Linked DNA regions of Homo sapiens: region 2 is linked to region 1. The links are contacts of gene promoters, found by promoter capture Hi-C in blood cells and fetal thymus (Javierre and others, 2016). All regions are on one chromosome and are shown on one strand. Each heading gives the region's core, a stretch centred on a gene start or on the middle of the fragment in contact. The rest is flanking DNA. Distances are from core to core; before and after follow the strand shown.

What was found. The method cuts DNA at HindIII sites, captures the fragments that hold promoters and counts their contacts. A CHiCAGO score of 5 or more calls a contact.
Region 2: a contact is called between a fragment that was not itself captured here and the fragment with the promoter of CAMK2G in region 1, in 1 of 17 cell types (fetal thymus). The highest score is 6.4, in fetal thymus.

The regions. Positions count from the first base shown.
Region 1 is chr10:73,870,920-73,876,830 of GRCh38, reverse strand. CAMK2G (calcium/calmodulin dependent protein kinase II gamma) reads left to right here and starts at 2,276. Exons shown (of 23, transcript NM_001367534.1): 1 at 2,276-2,434; 2 at 3,748-3,842. The coding sequence starts at 2,370. RefSeq lists an enhancer at 1,554-1,663 and silencers at 1,884-2,163, 2,174-2,333, 2,394-2,563, 2,824-2,883. The HindIII fragment of the contact is 9,701 bases long and covers 1-5,911 here.
Region 2 is chr10:75,112,766-75,118,676 of GRCh38, reverse strand. The region is part of intron 1 of SAMD8 (sterile alpha motif domain containing 8); the gene reads right to left. Among named protein-coding and RNA genes, the nearest start is that of SAMD8, 4.1 kb to the right of the region's middle. The HindIII fragment of the contact is 1,565 bases long and covers 2,257-3,821 here.

The DNA.
Region 1 (5,911 bases), core at 1,027-3,526:
TGATCAACTGATATTCAAAGTTGCTTCTGCTTTGGAGATGGATGACAGAAACTCAACACTTACTGGCATCCCCATGTATGCAATCTCATTGCCCTACCCCACACTGGGACTTGGGACCTGGCTCTCACCCAGGTGCTTTGAGATAGGAAGTGGCCTTACTCTCCACTTTACCTCCTGTTGCCCTGGGGAGGGGTAGGGCATGGTGCTCTGGCACTGCTACCCTTTCCCTTGGCCCTCTCTACCCTTCTCCCAAGAGAACTGCTAATGCTTTTCCTTTAGGGCTTCATGCCCTCCCATTCCCTAATCACCCCTACTGGGCAGTCTGGTTCCCAAAGCAGCTCTCAGGGCTGTTGGGTCAGGACAGGAGGGGAGCACTCCTGGAGAGCTCTGCCCCACCCACCCCTCAGGGAGGCAGCTTGGGAGGCTGGGACACCTCTCAGCCCCCTCCTCTGGCAGAGCGAGCCTGCTGGCGAGGGAGACCCGACTCCCAGTGGGCGTCCTGCTGTAATCAAGACTGAGTGGCAGCCTCTGGCTGAGCTCCACCCTGCCCAGTTGGGGCTGGCCTCAGCCTCAGGGGACAGCTGCCCAGGCAGGTCAGGAACCTGCCCAGCCTGTTTGTCCCCCATCAAGACAGTTATGTGCCTCTGTCCCACCAACTTGTGATGGTGGGGACAGGAGAAGGGATGGTATCTCCCTCTGCCATCCCACAAATATTTACTGAGGGTCAGGGGCTGAGTGTACAATGGTGAACAAAAGGTGCAGAGGCCCCGCTTTATTGGAGCCTACAATTCAGCGGGAAGCTAGTTTTTGTATTTTTAGTAGAGACAGGATTTCACCATGTTGGCCAGGCTGGTCTCGAACTCCTGACCTCATGATCCACCCGCCTCAGCCTCCCAAAGTGCTGGGATTACAGGTATGAGCCACCACGCCCGGCCCAGCAAATGTAGTTCTAATTAGGCACCAAGTACTATTCTAAGTGCCTTAGACCATTTAATGCTGACAGGCCTATGAGGTAGGTAATATTATTGTTCCCAGCCGGGCGAGGTGGCTCATGAAGCCACCTCTGTACTACATACATACTTCATTACTTCATGTATGTACTACATACATACTTCATTACTACAACATAATGAAGCCCCGTCTGTACTAAAAATACAAAAAAATTAGCCGAGCGTGGTGGCGCGCGCCCATAATCCCAGCTACTCGGGAGGCTGAGGCAGGAGAATCGCTTGAACCCAGGAGGTGGAGGCTGCAGTGAGCCAAGATCGCACCACTGCACTCCAGCCCGGGCAACAGCGCAAGACTCCGTCTCAAAAAAAAGATTCAGTGACTTACCCCAGGTCACAGAGCTGATCAGTGAGTTGCCTAGAAATCCAATCCAGGCAGTTTGATGCAAGTTCACGCTTAGACAGCTATGAGATAGCTCTACTGCCCCTTATACCAGTCAATGCATCACTACAAAATGTGGTAGGTGCCAGAAAATAAAAGTACGAGGGTGCCTTGCAAGAAAATGGGGATTTCCCCTTTCTTCCACTTTCTCTTCTAGCCCCCACTGCACAAAGCCTTTTCAAGTCTTCCTACTTCACCCCTTTCATTTCTGGCCGGATAGAGAATACTCTTTCATCTCTGCAGTTATGGTGCAGGAAGGCAGAGTCCTACCTGTATCCTTGCCCCTGGCCTGGTCTCCCTGATCAACCCGCGCCTGAAGGGTTTCTTTCTAATAATGGCCCTGGTGCTTGCGCAAGTCTAGACTGTCAGCTCCCAGAGGGAAGGCGGCTGGCAGCTGGCTCTGCGCAGGCTGGGGGCGCCTCCCGGGCGTGCAGCCTGGCACAGGCTCCTTGACCTTGGCTCTCTCCCCACGTGCTAGGAGCCCGGTTGGGGGCTCGGGACCCGCGTGTAGGACCCGTCCAGAGAGGTCAGTGGTCCAGACTCCTACACTCCTAACACATGCACCCTCGCATGCACGTTCCCGAGCCCGCGCGGGGTCCGCCCCGGGACAAGCCCATAAGTCGCGAACCTTCCAGCTCCGTCTGCCCAGACAGGTGGCCCGGAGCGGGGACCCCCTCCCCTCGGCTGCCCCGCGCGCCTGGCCCAGCGAGGGCGGCTCCGGGGCGGGGCGGGGCCGGCGGCGGGAGGCCCCTCCCCGGGGGCGGGCCGGGGGCCGGGCGGGGGGGGGGACTGGCGGGGCCTGGGGGCGGGGCGGGGCGGGCGGCGCGGGGGTGTCCCTCCCTCCCTCGCTCTCCCCGGTAAAGTCTCGCGGTGCTGCCGGGCTCAGCCCCGTCTCCTCCTCTTGCTCCCTCGGCCGGGCGGCGGTGACTGTGCACCGACGTCGGCGCGGGCTGCACCGCCGCGTCCGCCCGCCCGCCAGCATGGCCACCACCGCCACCTGCACCCGTTTCACCGACGACTACCAGCTCTTCGAGGAGCTTGGCAAGTACGGCCCGCCCGCCGCGGTCCCCTGCCTGCCCTGCCGCCCGGGAGCTATGCGGCTTCTCGCCCCGCCCCCCGGCCCTGCACCGGCCGCTGCGGCTCCCCCTCGGCCGCCCCACCCCCGCCTTTCCCGCCCGCCGCCTTCGGTCCCCGCGCCCCCCGCGCACTGCCCCGCATCCCCCTCCGCGCCCTGCAGCAACTGGCGGGGCCGCTGCTCCCCACGCGCCGCCGCGGACACCGCAGACCCCGGACCGCTCCCGGGTGCCCTCCAGCCCCGCCCCTCCGCACCCTTCAGGCGCCCCCCTCCCGACCACCTCCCAACGCTGCCCGGTTGCTCACTCCGCACCCTGAACCCAGGTCCCACGCGCCTCGCACTCAGGACCCTCCCCAGCCCTGCAGCCCTAGCTCTGCTGCGGAGCCCGGGCGTGGGGGGGCTGTTTGGCGCCCGGCCCCGCCCCCCGCGGGTGCCGCTCCAGGCTCCCAGCCCCGCGGCTGGGCAGTGCTGCGGCACCCCCGTCCCCTCCCCCCACCCCTGCAGTGGTCCCGGGAGCCGCGCCGCAGCCTCAGCATCCCCCTCCCCTCCGCACTGAGCTGGCCGCTGCAGCAGCCCCGGCCCCCCACCCCCACCCGCGGCGCCGAGCCCGGCCACTGCAGCCCCCGCCCCGCCCGCCCCCCCAGACGTTTCCAGAGCTCAGAGTGCGAGCTCCCGTTTGACGGGGACGTCAAGGAAAATAGCATGGGAAGGGGAGTTCTTGATGTCTGACTGTGTCCTCTCTTCCCTTGCTGTCAGTTGAGCCGGGATGCAGTGAGATGAAACCGGCTGTGGGGGGGTTTGAGCCTCACTTTGCCCCATGGTTGAGGGAGATTTCTCTTTCAGGGGATGATACCCTCTTTTTAATCTTTCCTTCCCCGACCTTCAACTGTTCCTGCTGAGAGAAGGGCAGGGTCTCTCTGCTCCCTTCTGCCCTGGTTCTCTTGGCCGGGACCGCAGGGCTGTCTGAGATGCAGCAGGTGTGTGTTTTCAGCATCGCCCACCCGCTCCTGATGTGCAGCCTGAGGTGGAGGCTGTTGCCTTGCCCAGGGACTGGATGAGGGGGTGGGAGCGCGGCACGCCACCCACATCTGTTCAGTGTCCTGCGGTGGCCGCGTCCTTTTGCCTCATGTTGGATGGTGGTGGTCACAGCGCCGGTGTGTGTGCATGTACGTGAGTGTGACTAGAGGTCTGGTGGTGGGAGCATCATCGTCCCCAGACTTGAAGTGTGTCTGTGTCACTCTGCCCTGCTCCGTGTCCCAGTTCTTTTCCCCTTCTCCCTCCAGGGGTGCTTTCTCTGTGGTCCGCAGGTGTGTGAAGAAAACCTCCACGCAGGAGTACGCAGCAAAAATCATCAATACCAAGAAGTTGTCTGCCCGGGGTGAGTGTTCCCTGTCTTGACCTCTTCCTGAGGGTGCCTCCAGGGGCCATGGTTTCTTTTGAGGAAGCCCCAGGAATTGGGGGTTGTGCGTTTTAGCACTTGGAGAGGAGTTGGAATTTCAGACTGGTTGGACTTTGTGTCAGGCTGAAGCCAGAAAAGGAGTTGCATGGGGGACTGGAAGCGCCCAGGTACAAAAGAATGAAGGAAGAGATGCAAGTAGCTGCAGTGGCCCCCAAAGGCTCAAGGGAGTTCGGTCTTCAGGGAGGTGGAGGATATGGGGGTAGTGGGTGGTACAGAATGGGGAGCTCTTAATTTGGGGCATTTGGAGCCTCTCCCTTTGGGGCAGTGGTGGCTACTGCAGGCCTTTCCTGGTCCCTGTGCCCCAGTGGTGACTTAGGATGGAAATGCAGTAAGTGAGCAGCTCTGACAAAGCCAGCCTCCCCTGCCCACCAGGCGGCAGAACAGACTCCCAAGGGAAGGGAATCTGTAAACATCAGGGGAGGCTGCTACTGGCGAGGGCTTCTCAGGAACAAATTCTGCCAGATGAACTTGATTGCTTTTTTGATCAAATTACAAAGTTGGTGGTGCAGCAGCAGATGTAGTCTGTCCTGGGTGGAGGGTGATGCCTCATGGTCTAGAAATCCCAAAGGCCCGGTTTGGGCAGGAACTGCACTGCCTCCGAGTCTGAGGAGCATAAAGGCCAAGGCCTTGGGGCCTCACTTGCGAGATCCTCCCAAGTACCTGAGGCTTGGAGGGTCAGGGCCTGTCTTTCACACCTTGAACCTACACTCTCTGAACTTCCTATTGGGTACTTGCCAAACTCACCTCATCTGATAGGTGTAGACCCAGCAATGTGTGAAGTGCTCTGGGAACAGGTCTGGTGAGTACAGAGGTCAGATCTCGGAGGGCTGCAGGGTGCAGCTGGGGGACAAAGGTTGTGAAACTCAGAGAAAGGAATTAGGGCTGGGCAGTAGGATGCCATAAATATATTAGGAGCCAGGACACATGCCCTGGGGAAGACATGGGCTTTGGCCAATAATGACACGGGTTTCTCTGGGATAAGAGACATAATAGATGTCCCAAATGCTTAGAGAAGCTCTACAATTCCACGGGCTTCTGTCGTGTTGGCAGTTGTTCTGGGACCTGTTTAGCAGGGCCGTGTCCACTCCCTGACTGGGGACTCTCTCTCCATCCCTCTAGTAGGGCACTAATTGCTGACTCCCATCCAGCTCCATCTCTTGCTGTTCGTGTACATTGCCTATAAAGTTGGACTTGTTTGTTTTCTTTCTCTCTGGGTACCTTGAGTCTGAGGATGGTTGCCATAGAGATATGTGGGCAGTCAGATACCCTGGAGTGGGGGTGGGGGGGACAACAGGGGCTGGGCTCTCTGGCAGACATCCTCTGGCCAAGGATGGAAGGTGCAGGCAGGAACAATGGCTTGAGGCTGGATACCTCTCTTGCCCACACAGCAGAGCCCTGGTGCATCAGAAACAGGGCTGGCATCTGGTGTCTCCAGTTGATGATGCAATGCTTTGCTCTCTTCATCTCACCAGTGTCCTCTGACCCATGGGTAAGAGAAGGAGAGATGGCTGGGAGCCGAATTCTGGGATGTGAGGATAGGTGATGTGGTGACTTCCTGCAGCTGCCTGACTGGGGCTTTCATTTCCTACTCCTTCCCTACCTGCGTAAATTTCCATGACCTGTGTGATAGCCTCCCTTTCCCTTCCTCACCTCCTTTTAACCTTGTCCCATCTTTCCCAATGGATATCTTTCCCTGGCCAAACTGGATGAGACTTGATTTCTCGTTGATTTTTTTTTTTTTCCCCTCAAGAAGAGGATTCTTGTGTAAAAGTATATGCTTCAGACAGCAACTCCCCCTCTCCCAAGATGGATATGCCAAGACTGGGCTCTGTTGTGTGGCCTCATGTGCCAGGTTGACTTTGGGACAGAGGCACAGATGATAGGCACAGATGCCAGCCAGAGGGGTCAGAATGTGTAAGTGCCAGCCAGTACTGTGTGGAGGTGGGAAAGTGGAAAGGGGCTGTCTTGGAGATGGAGGGAACAAGGTG
Region 2 (5,911 bases), core at 1,790-4,289, 1.2 Mb before region 1:
ACTTATAGAAAGATATTTTTCTTTTTCTTTTTTGAGACGGAGTCTTGCTCTGTCGCCCAGGCTGGAATGCAGCGGCGTGATCTCAGCCCACTGCAGCCTCTGCCTCCCAGGTTCAAACAATTCTCCTGCCTCTGCCTCCCAAGTAGCTGGGACTATAGGGGCACACCACCACACCTGGCTAATTTTTATATTTTTAGTAGAGACAGCATTTCACCATGCTGGCCAGGCTGGTCTCGAACTCTGATCTCAAGTGATCTGCCTGCCTCACCCTCCCAAAGTGCTGGGATTACAGGCGCAAGCCACTGTGCCCAGCCTATTTTGCATTTTCTTAGCAAGCACAGGGTATTGTTTCCAAAACATCGATAAAATCTGCAATAATTACAAAACAGTTTCAAAGACCTTGCACTAACTCCTACCATCCATTTTGAAACTCTTTAGTGGTGATTTTCTGTTTTGTTATGTCCCACTTCTGAGCAGTAGAATTTAGGGCAGCATCTTTAAAAGAATTAAATTCCCTCCTCAGTTACATCATCATTCTCTTGGCTGCACTTCAGTTCTTGGACTTTTTTGCTGCTCTAACCGTGAACTCTTATAATTTCACTCAAAAAAAGTTGTCATATATACCAAATAACATCTTTTTCTGGTTCCAAATAGCCTTTAAACTAACTTCTACTATCAGGCTGCACCAAGTTATCTACACCAAATCCAGAACTGTCTCCCCTCAATGAGTAAGAATCTGACAGATATTACCGTCCATTTTATATTCTCAGTTATACCAAAAATTTTTCCACGATGATAGGACTTTGGTGATAAATTTGGTAAAGGGTTCCTGACCTGGCTGCAATGCCACAGCAAACCAGTAAAGAAGCTAAGTATCTAAAATTCTAATTTTTATTCTAACCAGGCTAGCAGTTTAACATATCAATTTGGTAAAATCTTTTTTGTTTGTTTGTTTGTTTGAGAAAGCATTTCACTCTTGTAGCCCAGGCTGGAGTATAATGGCGCAATCTCGGCTCACTGCAACCTCTGCCTCCTGGGATCAAGCAATTCTCCTGCCTCAGCCTCCCAAGCAGCTGGGATTACAGGTACGTGCCACCACGCCCAGCTAATTTTTTTGTACTTTTAGCAGAGAAAAGGTTTCACCATGTTGGCCAGGGTGGTCTTGAACTCCTGACCTCAAGTAAGCCACCCACCTTGGCCTCCCAAAGTGCTAGGATTACAGGTGTGAGCCATCACGCCCACCCTTTTTTTTTTTTAAGATAGGGCCTCACTCTTTACCCAGGCTGGAGTGCAGTGGCGCAATCACAGCTTACTGCAGCTTTGACCTCCTGGGCTCAGGTGATCCTCCCACCTCAGCCTCCTGAGTTCTGGGACTATAGGTGCACACCACCACACCCGGCTAATTTTTGTATTTTTAGTAGAGACGAGGTCTCACTATGTTGCTCAGGCTGGTCTCAAACTCCTGGGCTCAAGGGATCCACCCACCTCAGCTTCCCAAAGTGCTGGGATTACATGCATGAGTCACCCCACCCAGCTGGTAAAATCTTTATTTTTAAATATGCTACACTGGCAGGCTGCGGTGGTTCACGCCTGTAAACCCAACTTTGGGAGGCCAAGGGGGGTGGATGCCTTGAGCCGAGGAGTTCAAAACCAGCCTGAGCAACATAGTGAGACCTCGTCTCTACTAAAAACACAAAAAATTAGCCGAGCATGGTGGCACGCGCCTGTAATCCCAGCTACTGGGGAGGCTGAGGTGGGAGAATTGCTTGAACCCGGGAGGCGAAGGTTGCTATGAACTGACATCACGCCACTGCACCAGGCTTCGGCAACGAAGTGAGACTCTGTCTCTAAATAAATAAATAAATATGCTACATCCAAAATCTAATCAATATAATGGAAAATGAGAAACTGGCTCAAGACTTCAAACTCCATTAAATATTGTGAAAATGGATTGGATTTGCAGCCAAATTTTAATGTATGGTTTTGGAAATCTCTGGCTTTCATGCTAATATTATATTGATGGAACTGACATCAATTCCATTTAATCTCAAAGTTCCAAACTAAAACAGATTTGCAAGTATTTCCAAAAACTCAGTGACACCAGTTAACCTATAGGAAGGCCCTAAATTAGCAGAATCCATGGTTCTCACCTCCAACTAGAATTTATCTGTCAAAAATTTCAAGACAACAGAACAAGTATCAAGATAACAGATACTCATGTTACTACCTCTTGTCCTCTGCCACAACTCATAAGCTTAACTAAATGCACTTCAAAAATTTAAGACACTCACACCTGTAATCCTAGCACTTTGGGAGGCTGAGGTGGGAGGACTGCTCGAGGCCAGGAGCTCTAAACCAGCCTGGTCAACATAGCTGATACCCCATCTCTACAAAAGAAAAATTTAAAAAAATTAGCCAGGTGTGGTGGCACACGCCTATAGTCCCAGCTACTCAGAAAGCTGAGGCAGGAGGACTGCTTGAGCCCAGGAGTTCAAGGCTGCATAAGCCATGATCGCGCCACTGTATTCCAGCCTGGGAGACAGTGAGACCCTATCTTTAAAAAAAAAAAACTACCAAAAAATACTTAGACAAATATAAATATAATTCACTGCCCTGCCCCACAACACTCTTTTCTGAGGTACATATCATAAAACATTGTTTTATGGTGAAACACTGTGGTGAAACTATTATAACCAAGTTTTTCTTAGTTAATAGTCTTTTTTTTTTTTTTTTTTTGAGACGGAGTCTCGCTCTGTTGCCCAGGCTGGAGTGCAGTGGTGTGATCTCCGCTCACTGCAAGCTCCGCCTCTCGGGTTCATGCCATTCTCCTGCCTCAGCCTCCTGAGTAGCTGGGACTACAGGCGCCTGCCACGAGGCCCGGCTAATTTTTTTGTATTTTTAGTAGAGACGGGGTTTCACCGTGTTCGCCAGGATGGTCTCGATCTCCTGGCCTCGTGATCCGCCCGCCTCGGCCTCCCAAAGTGCTGAGATTACAGGCGTGAGCCACCGTGCCCGCAGTATGTTACATTCTATAGTATTGTGAGGACCCAATAACAGAACATTTCAATACGGAAACATGAAGTCACTGAACTCAGCTAAAGGTTAGGCTTCAGATCTGTGATGATGGTACTGTGTGTATGGGAGGAGGGGGTTCAGGAATATTCACATCACAGGTCTGTTACAAATCCATACCCACACATTCATATGGCAAATTACCAGGAAGCAACAGCGGTAGCATGTAAACACCAATCTGTTTTCCCAGTGTGCCTGGCCCATGCTCTCCTATTTTTAGTTAACATCTTGATTTCTCAAGGCCAAGAAAACCACAAGACCTAAAGTAAGCATCACTGTCCTGATGATATCTGTTGTCAAATGGCTTTCTCTGTTCTTGCCCTACTATTAACCCCTCAATGTGTTACATCATACCCTTAGAGCAAAACAAAAACAAGAACAAAAACTGGTTCCAAAAGAATTCCCAAAATCACATGTAAGCAAGTATTAAAGATACGGCATTTTGCAAATAAGTAACTCTTTATTTGTAAACAAATATAAATACATGAGACGTGAAAATAATCAAGGCTCTCCCCTGTCATCTCTGCAAATAAGTAAAACATTTAATCTAATCTGGGAATGAAATAGTATAGTCCTCCTCTATAACCTAAATCCCTTAAAAGAATTTTGATTAGCTCATACTGTATTTTTTCACCAAATACCACAATCATTCAAAAGAGCTTCATAGGTAATTTAGCAGAATATGCAATTGTATTCATATCTCGTATAAATCAGTTTGATGTCCAAAGAGAATCAAAGCTACAGAAGCTTTAAAATTAAAAAGTGAATTCAATCTTAGTTCATTAACAATCCACTGGCATATGAAAAATGAAGGGGGTAGAATCTGAAGACAGGAAAGATTTCCATCCATAAATTAACGGGCATGCTAGGTACACCCAACAATTAACACCATATATTACATCAGGCCTGGAAGTAAAAATCTTGAAAGAATAGCTTGTTAACATGGCATTCTTATAAAACAATAATAATACTATTCATGGAAACATCTGTGATTTAAGTTTCTCAAAAAAAGTGTTCAAATTTCAATTCTTAGAAAAGCCATGAAAATGTCTTAATCAGTAACAGCAAAGTTTTGAAGAAGTATTGAGGATCTAATGATTAACAAAATAAAAAAATGTTTATAAGCAACTGTGCAATGTGAATAAGCTTTTGCAGAAGGGGGGTTATGGTACTGAAATCAAAACTGATTTACCTAAATATGTCTGCATATTCTGCCATCGCAGTCATGATGGCTTCTTCTGCCTTAGAGAAACCGATTTTTTTTTTTTTTTTGAGACATATCACTCTGTTGCCCAGGCTGGAGTGCAGTGGTGTGATCTCAGCTCACAACCTCTGCTTCCCGGGTTCAAGAGATTCTCCTGCCTCAGCCTCCTGAGTAGCTGGGATTACAGGTGTGAGCCACCACACCTGATTAATTCTTTTTATAGTATTAGTAGAGATGGGGTTTTGCCATGTTGGCCAAGCTGGTCTTGAACTCCTGACCTCAAGTGATCTGCCTGCTTCGGCCTCCTAAAGTGGTGGGATTACAGGAGTAAGCCACCACACCTAGCCAAAAACTGATTTTCTTTATTCAATGGGTGTGAGAACTGACAAAGGGAAACAAAAATTAAAAAACTATTAGACATGCTAATATGTTAATTGTACAACTCCATCTAACAGTTTCTCTTTAATTTTGCAATAACATTAAGCTGTAATCTTAATAGAGTTCTTATATTGCAGTTCAGCAAATTTTTACATGCCATGACTTTTATTCACAACTAAGTATGAAGATAAGGTCTCCAGAGGATCTCACTCTAAAGATAAAACCAACAAACAGTAATATTACATAAACTTCAACTGAAGATAATTTGTATTAAGTTAAAGAAAAGGGAATTAATACTTTAACAATCTCAGCATTTTTAGCTAAGAATTCACATATCCTTTGAAGAAACAATTACTATTCCACTGTGCATCTGAGGGTATGTCACATAGCCCATACACATAAACTAATTTAAAAGCTGTTGCAAATCAAATTATCATCTCATGAAGATTAAACAGTAGATATCCATTTAGATTTAATCAAGCATTTAGAAAACGCTTGATGCTAACAAAAATTAGCCAGCCATGGTGGCGCCCACCTGCAGTCCCAGCTACTCCCAGCTACTTGGGAGGCTGAGGTGGGAGGATCACTTAAGCCTGGGCAACACAGCGAATCTCTGTCTCAAAAAAAAAAAAGAAAGGAAAGAAAAGAAAAGAAGGAAGAGAAAAGAAATGGCCAACAACTTTACAAACCTATAATCACATAAAAAGTTGTAAAACATATGAGACATGTGGCTAAAGTCAAAGACTTCATGGAACCATGTTATGACTTAACAATCACAAAAGGAAGTCAATTTATCTCTACTAAAGTGAATATAAATATTGCAATCATTCTTTTTCTGGCATAATTATGTTTTGGAACTATGTCTTCTATAAAAAGCATCTGTATACCCACCTGTCCCAGTTGTGTTGGCTGCCAACTACAAGCATCCTCTGTCCTTATTTTTCCAAATCACTCTACTAAAAATACTATTCACACAATACCTGCAAAATAGTATTTCAATATTGGTTTTGCCAATCAGTCAAAGGTACCTCTCCAATTTTCAAGAGATAAGTCCAATCCTGGGGTTATCAGTGAGAGGAAGATTTGGTATTGCGCCTAGACTGTGGCAAGTTCACTGTGCCCCCTTCACCCAGAAACTTGCATTGACCATACATTTACTATGTGGCAAATACATGTGTCAACTTAAAACTTTGAAAGTGGAACCAGTCCATGTTGAGTATCTGTAAAATCCAAGTGTCCAAATTCTTGTTTCAAGTT